Regions from separate parts of the Homo sapiens genome. Here region 2 is linked to region 1. Evidence: promoter capture Hi-C in 16 types of primary human blood cells and fetal thymus (Javierre and others, 2016). All regions are on one chromosome and are shown on one strand. The core of a region is centred on a gene start or on the middle of the fragment in contact, and the rest is flanking DNA. Distances in the headings are between cores, read along the strand shown. Region 1 holds the start of PLXDC2 (plexin domain containing 2). Region 2 overlaps ARMC3 (armadillo repeat containing 3).

Region 1 (5,513 bases), core at 1,064-3,563:
CTCAAAAAGAATCGGCATCAATTAAACTATAGTTGACCCTTGAACAGTATGGGGGTCAGGGGGACGGACCCCCACACAGTAGAAAATTAATGTATAATTTCGACTCCTCATAAACTTAACTGCTAATACCCTACTGTTGATTAGAAGCATTACTGATAATATAAAAACAGTTGATTAACACATATTTGGTATGTTCTACATATTACATACTGTATTCTTAAAATAAAGTAAGCTAGAGAAAAGAAAATGTTAAGAAAATCATAAGGAAGATAAATATACTTACTGTTTATTAAGTGGAAGTGGATCATCAGAAAGGCTTTCATCCTCATCGTCTTCACATTGAGTGGGCTGAAGCGGAGGAAGAGGAGGGGTTAGTCTTGCTCTGTTAGGGGTGGCAGAGGAGGAAGAAAATCCATGCAAAAGCGGATCCTCGCAGTTCAAACCCCTGTTGTTCAAGGGTCAACCGCACAATCAGGTTTTGATGAGAAGACTCAGTTTTCAAACTTGATTTTAAGCAGGTATATATCCGGGTACTCAAATTCGGATGTAATATTACATAGAACTTAAACACTCCTAGTTAAGCAGAAATAGAAAAACCCAGTTACCTAAGTAGAAATCAACCTATGGGAGGAAAGCTCAGGAAAGAGCCAGGGTCCTGGCATAATAAAGAGTATAGGCATGATATATGTTTGTGTTTATACGTGTATATCTGTTGTTTGGAAATAAAGAGCAAATTGAGTATTGGATTAAGGGAAACCTTTCTTGTTTCCCATGAGAGAGCCGTCCTTTGAGCATCACATTTGCAAAGGTAGATTGATTATCCGGATCCACTTCCAGTGGGTTTTGTGGCAAGCCGAGACATCTATTGACAGCATCCATAGACTCTTCAGAGCTTGGAGTGGAAAGGACCTTGAACTTAGAACACATGCACATTTATTATGTGATTGAAGTCGTCTTCTCTCACTTTTGCTTCAGTAAACACTTAAACAAAGCCATGTACTTTGCGGTAGGCAATGTTCTATATTTATTAAATATACAGTTAACTCATCCAATCCATTGCAACCACCTTATAAGGGCGTTACTCTAATTCTCTCCATTTGATGGATGGATAACTGAGGCTAGGAGATAAACTGCTCATTGCGGGGGAGGTGAAATTCCAGCCCAGGCTGTCCGGGCTCTAGATCCTGTACTTTTAACCAATAGCGCTTTGCTTCTTTTCCTTGTATTTATCCCTTTCAAAAATGATTAACTGTATGCAAAATAAGATATCAACTAACGAGAGGGCCGGCAAGGGTTAACGCGGAAACAGATCCCCGAGCTGAAAAAACAAAAACAAACTGGGGAGCCAGAGCCCCTGAAAGCTCCGGTAGGAAATTCAATGGGCCTCCTGTTCCTTTAAACTCTCGCTTTCGCCCCCGCTGACACTTTGCAAAGCCGCGGCGGCAGCGGCGGGGACCACGCTGCGGTGCACCACCTTCCGCCACCCTCCCGCGCTGGGCTGGGGTCGAGGGGGCTTCGCAGAGTCGGTAACCGAACCGGCTCTGGTTTGCTTTCTCCACTCCCTAGCCACTACCAGAACCAGCCTCCGCGAAGGGGCGAGCTGTGGTTAACCCTTTCGTGCCCAGGGAGACCCCGCCAGGGTCGGGGCGGGGCGCGATCGCCCCCCGCAGTCGGGCGCGAAGGCGGCCCGGGAGCCAGGTGGGTGTGGGGCGCAGTTGGCGGAGCTGCCCAGGGCGTGCGAGCAGGCTGCGAGGATGGCGCCCCGGCGGCGCGGAGGTACCGCCCCGCGCTCCCCCGATAGCTCCCCGGCCTGTCCCCTCTCCCCGCGCTCTGGGGCAGCCGGCTGCCTGGGGCGCACGGGGCTGGAGTGGCCCTCTCCCTCCCCTTCGCTAGGCTCCCCCGGCTTAATCTGTTGGCCGCGACTCCTCAGCCAGCCCCGAGGAAAGTGCAGCCATTGGACAGGTCTGTGCGGGCTGCCGGTTTCAGGGAGGAAGGTGGGAGAAGCCTGGAGGAGCGAAGGGGAGGGCGGAGGGAGGAGGGAGGAGGGTGCGGCGGCAGATCTGGCAAATTGCGAGCTGCCTTCCCTCCTCAAAGTGTGGAGAAGGAGCGCGGGGGAGCGTGGCGACGGCAGCGCCTCCTCCGCCACCAAACTCCTGGGGCTCCGCGGGGGCTTGGGGCCACCTCCTCCTGAGCCCGGAGGAACCCTCTCCCGATAGGTTCCAGCGTGACTCCCTCCCACTCCACCCTTTTCCTTTCTTCTTCCTCTTTTTTTTTTTTTTTTTTAAACACATTTTTTTCCTGGCTTCGGACCTCAGACTGCTGCAGCCCTAACCTTCCCAGGGCTCAGCTCTTTGGAGCTGCCCATTCCTCCGGCTGCGAGAAAGGACGCGCGCCCTGCGTCGGGCGAAGAAAAGAAGCAAAACTTGTCGGGAGGGTTTCGTCATCAACCTCCTTCCCGCAAACCTAAACCTCCTGCCGGGGCCATCCCTAGACAGAGGAAAGTTCCTGCAGAGCCGACCAGCCCTAGTGGATCTGGGGCAGGCAGCGGCGCTGGCTGTGGAATTAGATCTGTTTTGAACCCAGTGGAGCGCATCGCTGGGGCTCGGAAGTCACCGTCCGCGGGCACCGGGTTGGCGCTGCCCGAGTGGAACCGACAGTTTGCGAGCCTCGGCTGCAAGTGGCCTCTCCTCCCCGCGGTTGTTGTTCAGTGTCGGGTGAGGGCTGCGAGTGTGGCAAGTTGCAAAGAGAGCCTCAGAGGTCCGAAGAGCGCTGCGCTCCTACTCGCGTTCGCTTCTTCCTCTTCTCGGTTCCCTACTGTGAAATCGCAGCGACATTTACAAAGGCCTCCGGGTCCTACCGAGACCGATCCGCAGCGTTTGGCCCGGTCGTGCCTATTGCATCGGGAGCCCCCGAGCACCGGCGAAGGACTGGCGGGTGGGGTAGGGAGGTGGCGGCGGCGGCATGGCGAGGTTCCCGAAGGCCGACCTGGCCGCTGCAGGAGTTATGTTACTTTGCCACTTCTTCACGGACCAGTTTCAGTTCGCCGATGGGAAACCCGGAGACCAAATCCTTGGTAAGTAAGATGCACTTTAGCTTGCTGATTTTGTGCGCAGCTGAAGACCTCTCTGGCACTCTCGTGCTCCCTACCCTCTCCCCCCAACATCACCTATCTGCCCTTGGGAAACTTATTGCAGTTGCTTTTCGGCTAAACTTAGGCTTCCCAAATGGGGAAAGAGGGTTATCAAGAGAAGGACGCCGGGGACTAGGGGTTTTCTTGAGGCTTTCGGGCTTACTTCACCTGGGCGGCAGGGGGTGGTACTGTCTCCCCAAAGTAGCCCAGGGAGGGCTTCAGTGTGAGAGCAAAGCTTCTTCCGTGGATACATCTCCTAGGACCTGGCATCTCCAGGCTGTGTGCTCTCCGGCTCCTCCTCCTTCCTCGCTGCTGGTTAAACTAAGCGTGTGTGGTATGGGGTGGGTGGGGGACGTTGTGAAAGCCAGGGATTGCAGGTCTCCCCTCTGCACGAGAAAATTCCCTGTGGCAGCACCTTCCTTCCCCTGGCGATCCCCACTAGCTCCGTCTAGTGACCTGGGCCAAGCGGGCGCTGGAAGGGGGGCGGGGTAAATGCGGCCGGCGCAGAGGTGGGGAGCAGGTGGGAAAGGTGGAGGCGGGCTCGCCTCTGGAGACCTACCCCTGCTCCCATTGTCCTCCGCCTGCCAGCTTCACAGACAGGCCTGAACGCGCAGAGAGTTCCTTGGAGTGCCCTGATTTTGTCCCCGAGAGGGCCCCCAACCTCCGCATCCTCTTAGTGGCTGTCCTGGCAGGTGCGCGTCCTGCGGGGAGTTGCGCCCCGGGGGCTATCGCCGAGCGGGAGCTGCCTCCTGGAACCCTGCCCACCGCGAACTGGGTGCCTACTCCCCATTTCTGCCTTTCAGTGAAGAAAGTGAAGACACAGGCAGAAAGAGATCTTGGCAGAAATTGGTGAACTAGGGTGGACTTCGAGAGGAGGTGAAACGAGAGAAAAAGAAAAAAGAAAAAACTTGGAGGGAAAAGAAAAGAAAACGAAAACTTTCTCCCTAGGATAATCAATTTGTCAATTTGTTCTTTTCTGGTGTGTGTGTGTGTGTGTGTGTGTGTGTGTGTGTGTGTGTGTGTGTAATTTAAATGATTGCCCGGAAAGTATGCATGCGTCCTCAACAGTCAACTAGAGAGTCACAGATGGAAGGTTGGGGGACACCTGGGGATTCCAGGCAAGGTGAATCTTGAAGATCTTGAAGGAAACCCTTGAGTGAAATTTACCAAGCCGCGACTTAGAAGACAGTCACAACACTTCGCCTGTCCCTGGTGTAAACTGTTCTAGATAAAGCACAGATACTGACTCTGCGCTCTTATTTATGGTTGAAGGGGTGTGTGTGTTGGGGTGTATGTGCAGGGAGGCAATAGGATGACAACACTTTTAAAGCTGAGAACAAAATGCAGATTTCTTGGGTGTTGACTTGTCTTTGTCACATTTAATTGTTCTGCATTAATGGACATAGGTTGTTCTTGACTGTGTATGATTTATGACAGTAGACTATGCCTTTTGTTTATTTCTCTGATACGTTTCATTGGTCCGAAAAAATAACACTTTTAGCCTTCCAGGAAAGGACACAGTTATTTAAAAATTGCAACAGTAATTTTCATGTACTTATTCACGGTATGAATAGATGCTTAATAAAAACAATTAACTCCACCACAAACGAGGTTAAAAGGATGTGTGTGCCAATGTGCATCCCAAGTTGTTTATTTAAAAACTTCTTTGGCACTAGGAATAAATAATGCATTTGCAGTAAAGGAAAAAAAAATAAATGCCAGCAAATGTTTATCTTTTTATAAACCTGTTCCAGTAACGTTACTGAAAAAAGAATATATGTATACACACACACACACACACACACACACACACACAATACACACACATTTGCTATGCCAAGAAGTTCAGAAATTGAGGATGAAATTCATCCCAAAGTAAGATTGGCCATATAATTAAAAGCCCTTGCTGTGGGAAATATAAAATACTTAAAATGTTCAACATCAGTGTACTGGTATTTTAAGCTAGTTGAATATTTCTGATGGGAAATATACTCTAGAAACCCATATATTGATAGGATTGATTTTTAAAAGAATGGTTTTAAATTCCTTGCCAAATTTTCGAAGACTTTTATAAACAGAAGTAGCTTCTTTCCTGGACATCATTTACATGTAGTTTTATGAAAAAAATATTGTAATTAAATGGTTAGCTTACTGAATATATAAAAAAAGCAAGGTGAAACAGAAAAAAGTATACAACTTTATTTGTAAAATAGTCTATATAAAAATTCAGTATGGGGGGAAAAGTCCAGCAGTCTTGACGTTTGTCATGCAACAATCAGGATCTTTATTACAGACATGTTGGCACAGGAACAACATCTGATTTCATAACAGGGACATTTTATTATGCGTTACTTTAGTAAATGCTGCAGTTGATTTCATTGCC
Region 2 (5,513 bases), core at 815-3,314, 3.2 Mb after region 1:
CCATTTGGTATTCATGAATGAGGTTTCTTAGATACTCAAGTTTAGTGGATTTTTAAAAATTTACTTTTTTAATCCAAAAAAACTTTTAAAAATTTGCGATAAATTTGAATTAAAATCTTCTAAAATCTTTCCTTCTCAACCTTCTGTTTTTTTTTTAGACAGGGTGTCACTTTATTGCCCAGGCTGAAGTGCAATGGTACAATCGTAGCTCACTGCAGCCTAAACCTCCTGAGCTCAAGCGATCCTCCTGCCTCAGCCTTTCAGGTAGCTGAGATTACAGGCATGCACCATCCCACCCAGTTAATTTTTCATTTTTTTTTTTTTTTTTTTTTTTTTTTTAGAGATGGGGTCTTACCATGTTGCCCAGGCTGGTCTCTCAAACTCCTGAGCTCAAGCAATCCTCCTACCTTGGCCTCCCAAAGTGCTGGGATTACAGGTTTGAGCCTCTGCAGTGAGCTCCCTCTCAGCCTTTTGAACTGATTATGCTGTTATTAAACTTTGGTGGGGAAAGTTATGGTTGCCATTTTGACTAAATGACTGCCATGTGACCCTCGGAGGTGTTCTCAGTGCCCCTTGGGGAAGGGGGGCTACTTGTCCCACTCACTGGGTATAAATTCAGGGGGGCAGCTCCTTTGACCTTCGATGCATTTTGTTGATTCCTTATCAAGCTTCTGAGAGCTGTCAGTTTTTCATTTTCACTGCTATCAGTGGATCTGATTGGCAGAGCTCTAACTTCCTCCCTGTCAGAGTTCCTTTCAAATCCTTCCTTTCTGTCCATGAAAAGCTTGGATTCCAGGTAACCCAGCTTTATCAAATTGTACACAAAAGCCATACAGGAGGGCCTGATGCCTCTTTGGTATGTACATAATTTTTGCTTCTCAGAGGCCATTCCCTACCCCCACAGATAATTCTCGTGTATGTTGTGGTTATGTGAAATTTCCAGGTATTTGAGTTATGGATACGTGGATATGGATGGTAGTTAAAAATTATTAACAAACATGAATCCTTTTACTTACAAATGGGCTAATGTTGTAGAGTAAAATAGACATAAAATATATCCTGGAAGTAAATTCCGCTTCCGGGAGTATTTTGCCTTAGGTCATTGTAGTGACACCCTCTTGCCTGGAAAACCTCTTCCCATGCAGGCTGTGGTTCTCTCCCTCACCCCGTTTACATCTCTGTTACAATGTCACCTTGGCGAAGCTACTTAGCATTACCACACGGCTTAAGATTGCACTCCACACATGCATATTTTCAACGCTCCTTCCCTGCTGCCCTTTTCACATACCCTTATCATTTTCTAACATAGCATGTAACTCACCTGGTACACTTATCATCATTTATTTTCTGCACCCCCACACCCCTGCACTGCACGCCCCCCCCCCGCGCCACACACCAACCACTAGCATCCATGAAGGGAGCAGCCTTCATCTATTTAATTCACTGATGCATCCCAAGCATCTAGAACACTGTCCATCCCATAGTAGGCATTCGAAGGAAAATAGGCTTACATCAAAAATACAACCAAAAAATGGCCGGGCAAAGGTGGTTCACATCTGTAATCCCAGCACTTTGGGAGGCCAAGGCGGGTGGATTACTTGAGGTCAGGGGTTCGAGACCAGCATGGCCAACATGGCAAAACCCCATCTCTACTAAAAATACAAAAATTAGCCAGGAATGGTGGTGCATATCTGTAATCCCAGCTACATGGGAGGCTGAGGCATGAGAATTGCTTGAACCCTGTAGGCAGAGGTTGCAGTGAGCCAAGATCGCGCCACTTCACTCCAGCTTGGGCAACAGAGTGAGACTCCATCTCAAAAAAAAAAACAAAAAAAAAAAAAACAAACCCAAAACAAAACAAAACAAAACAAAAAACCCAAAAGTAAAAGAAAAGTGATGAAAACAAAGTCTATTTGACAAACAAAGTCTGTTGTCAAACAATCAATAATGGCCATTACTTAAAACAGAAAGCAATCATCAGTGTTGTTTTCTTTGTTTTTATATAACTTGGAAAACAGAAGCAACAGTGGAGGCTTCCCTATAAGAGCCTCCTATTGATACTTCTAATTATTATCTACAGAATAAAGATAACTTAAAGTGGGTACAAATATGAAAAGGCAATGAATAAGAATAAAAATAACTATTTTTATAAAGGCATAGTAAAAGGGGACAAGAACAGCCAGATTCACTTATTAGCAGTGAAAGAAGGAGAAAGCAAAGTAAAACTATTTTTAAGTGAATAAATAAAAGGTGTGAAGGCTAAAACAATGCCTGTAGAAAGGAACAAATAAAAATGGAAACCAAGAAGCAATAATGAATTTTATAGAAAAATGTAGTTGTTTGGACACATATCTTTTCTTGGTATACTGCTAATCTCTTTTACAGTTAACAATTTGTAATGCCTTTTGAAAACGAGAAAACCGTTTATTTTTGACATAGGAAATATTGTTTTCAGCTAAATTTCATGTTACATTTATCCTGTATGCTTCTATCCAATTAATCATATCAAAGTTCCATATTATTTATGCAAGTACTGAGAGACTTATTCTCTGAGGAGCAGACCCTACACATTAAAAGAATGTTTTAAACTATTACTTTATAACATCACTGCCATCTGTTGGATCTGATCAGAATTAGAGTTTAAGTTGTTCCAAGAAGAAAAAGGGTTCAGTGTTTTTCACTTCCCTTTGGCAATGCTAACTAAATTTGGCCACTGGTAAACTATGAAAAGATTAGAATAAATGTTCAGAACTAATAAAGATTAGTATAAATGTTGGCTAGACAGTTTTCAAAAGATGCAATTATCTTAGGAAATAAAATGCAATGAACAAAATAAAAATATACACAGTAATAACTACAATTATTTTAATAACTATAGAGAAGTGAGAACTGAAGTTTTGTTACAGTAAATGCATGATCATAAGTCCCTTGTTTACACATAGATCACACTAACTCTGATTCTTCATAATTATTCCATGTCATCCCCATGAAGAACTGAGTGATTTACCTAAATCTTAGAGACCCTTTTATTACCATTTCTTTGCTTTTTATTTTTTATTTTTTGTACCCCTTTTGACTTTCCATGACAGCAGTGACCCAAGAAAGTTCTAAATGTTAGCACATATAGTGGTGACTGAAAAATTAATTGATTGATTACTGGCCCATTGCCAGCTTCTACAATACCAGAGACAAAAAGCTCTTCCCCAGAAACTGTCTTGCTGTTGTGTTCCCTATGGTCAGGACCGCACAAGGGAATGATGAAATTGTAAGCAGTACACTCCAAAGGGACTCCACAAACAGATAGAATGCCCCCAAATTATATGGATGTGCATTTGAGTGCTTTGGGAAGCTTAGAATGTCCTCGTTATATATGGATAACTTGTCATTTTGTATTATCAGTATTAAACATTCTTTTCGCTAATATAGAAATAAAGCATTGACTAATTTTAATACTTATTAGAATTATTCATGGAGTATCATGCCTGAGAATGCCATGCAATTTGTAGAGAAAACTTTAGAACGTATGCCACATACAGAACTTCACACAGTGTTTCAAGAAAAGTCAATACTTCATCTAGTGCTTCAACAAAAATCAGTGCTGCATTTACTCACAGTGACCAAAGTCCTTTATCAATCATTTCAGTATTGTCAGGGAGGGGCATGATCTTAATGATTTCCTGGAATGTTAAGTTTCTCCAGCAGAAATAGAAAGCACTTTTCAAACCTTTTGAAAAATTTCTCTCCCATTCAGTAAAGTTGGTGGGAAGATAATGTATTGTGTATTTATTGTTACCATTTCTTTTATTCTATTGATTTTAGGCTAATGGTTTCTCCTTAGAATTGCCTATATTTCATAGTGGAATGAAGGCTGAGTGCAGTGAATGATGATGGTCATTTTGAAGGGGGGAAAAATCTCTTAAAGTTAGCAAAATACAAACCACAAGTTCCACTTTTCCTTCTCCATCCCTGTACAGGAAGAGATGAAATGGCTAGACATGTGTCCCATCACCCTTTGAAAAATAAATGTTAACACCCTATTCTTAGAACACACTTCTTGGCCAGTTACACAGACCCACTTACATAAGTAATCCTGTCATTGAGAATACTTTTTACTAAAGAAGCATTGACCATAGAGATAATCCACAGTGATTTACAAAATTAAAACGTAGTCCCATGAAAAATGCAAGTTCGTGTTGTAGACTTGATGTATAGGTTGCATTTAATATTGCTAAGGTTGTACAGCTATTGTCTTTGTTGCATAGGGTTTTTCATTTTCGGAGAGTTCCATTTTCTAACAATGCAAGGAACTGCGTCTTCATACTGACCCCTAGTGGCCGATTAGGAGGACGTTGGGGGAGGGGCAAAAAAGGTAATGGAAGGATGGTTCTGTAGTTTAATGAAACGTACGTTAATTTAATTTGGAACACTCTCCAGTGTATCTAAGATAATATTTCCAAAACATTTTTAAAAGATTCCGATCTGAAAATCATTTCAACATGCTGCTTTTAGAGATAATATTCTACTGCTAAACGTGTGTTTAACAGATGCTTGTGTTTGACTTTGTCCCCTATTAAGGTGTAGTCATTTACAAATGTTTTGACGCATTCATTGTACCGGTAGCTGGACATCTTCTGTGCTATATAACCAGATAGGATAAATGTAATACTCTTGAACAACATAATCTAAGAAATCTCATTGCTATTATGGTTTCTCTAGAGTCGATTTTTTGCTCTTGACTTTGTATAATAGATTTTGTTTTACATTCTTATTTATATCACTTTGTTGTAAAATTCTAGATCCTTTGAATTAGAATACTCACAAGATGAGTATCTTGCAAGATAGCTAATTTCATAAGTTTTTAGGAGGTTTTGTTTTGTATTAAGGATGAGCTCTGGAAGAATGTATTTAACATGTTAATTAATGCCTTAAAAGTCCTCTGGAATTAATAGATAAAATAAATGGGAAAAGTCCTCATGGTAAACCTGAGAATTATTCTTGCATTATTTCTGTCCAAGTTTACTGAGTGGATGCTTTTCTTTCTGCCCCTTAGAGCCTAGATTCCTCCCTGTCTGATGGAATCTTATTCTAAACATTGGTTATACTGGATTGGAAAAATCATACTGAATTTGGAAAACAGAGAATGAAAAGCTGAATTTTGCAATAGAACAAGTGGATTCCCTATCCCCATTTCATGTCAGTGGATGCCCACCTGACCTTGACTAACAGTTTGAATTTGATTAGCTACTGATTTTGTGAGGCCAAGTGAATCCCATAAAATGTTCAATTAGAAAATTATCCATGCTACTTTTATTACCTACAGTGCAGAGACTGATATTTGCATAACCTCGTTTTAAAGTTGCTAGTACTCTCTTTCAGGTTTAATTTCCAACATTACTGATTTTCAGAGGAAATCTTTATATTGTGTGATTTCCCCCCCCCACTTCCAATTTGAAGCATACTTAAACCTATATAAGGTTATTTTTACCAACCCTTGACTTTTTATGTTAATCATT

The links. The method cuts DNA at HindIII sites, captures the fragments that hold promoters and counts their contacts. A CHiCAGO score of 5 or more calls a contact.
Region 2: a fragment that was not itself captured here is called in contact with the fragment with the promoter of PLXDC2 in region 1 in 2 of 17 cell types (total B cells and naive B cells); the score reaches 10.3 in total B cells.

Annotation. Positions count from the first base shown.
Region 1 is chr10:19,814,119-19,819,631 of GRCh38, forward strand. It overlaps PLXDC2 (plexin domain containing 2), which reads left to right and starts at 2,314. Exons shown (of 14, transcript NM_032812.9): 1 at 2,314-3,073. The coding sequence starts at 2,962. It overlaps LOC124902388 (a long non-coding RNA gene), which reads right to left and starts at 2,110. Exons shown (of 2, transcript XR_007062078.1): 1 at 284-2,110. RefSeq lists an enhancer at 1,238-2,003. The HindIII fragment of the contact is 8,470 bases long and covers 1-3,363 here.
Region 2 is chr10:22,984,736-22,990,248 of GRCh38, forward strand. All of the region lies in intron 10 of ARMC3 (armadillo repeat containing 3), which reads left to right. Among named protein-coding and RNA genes, the nearest start is that of ARMC3, 59 kb to the left of the region's middle. The HindIII fragment of the contact is 2,565 bases long and covers 783-3,347 here.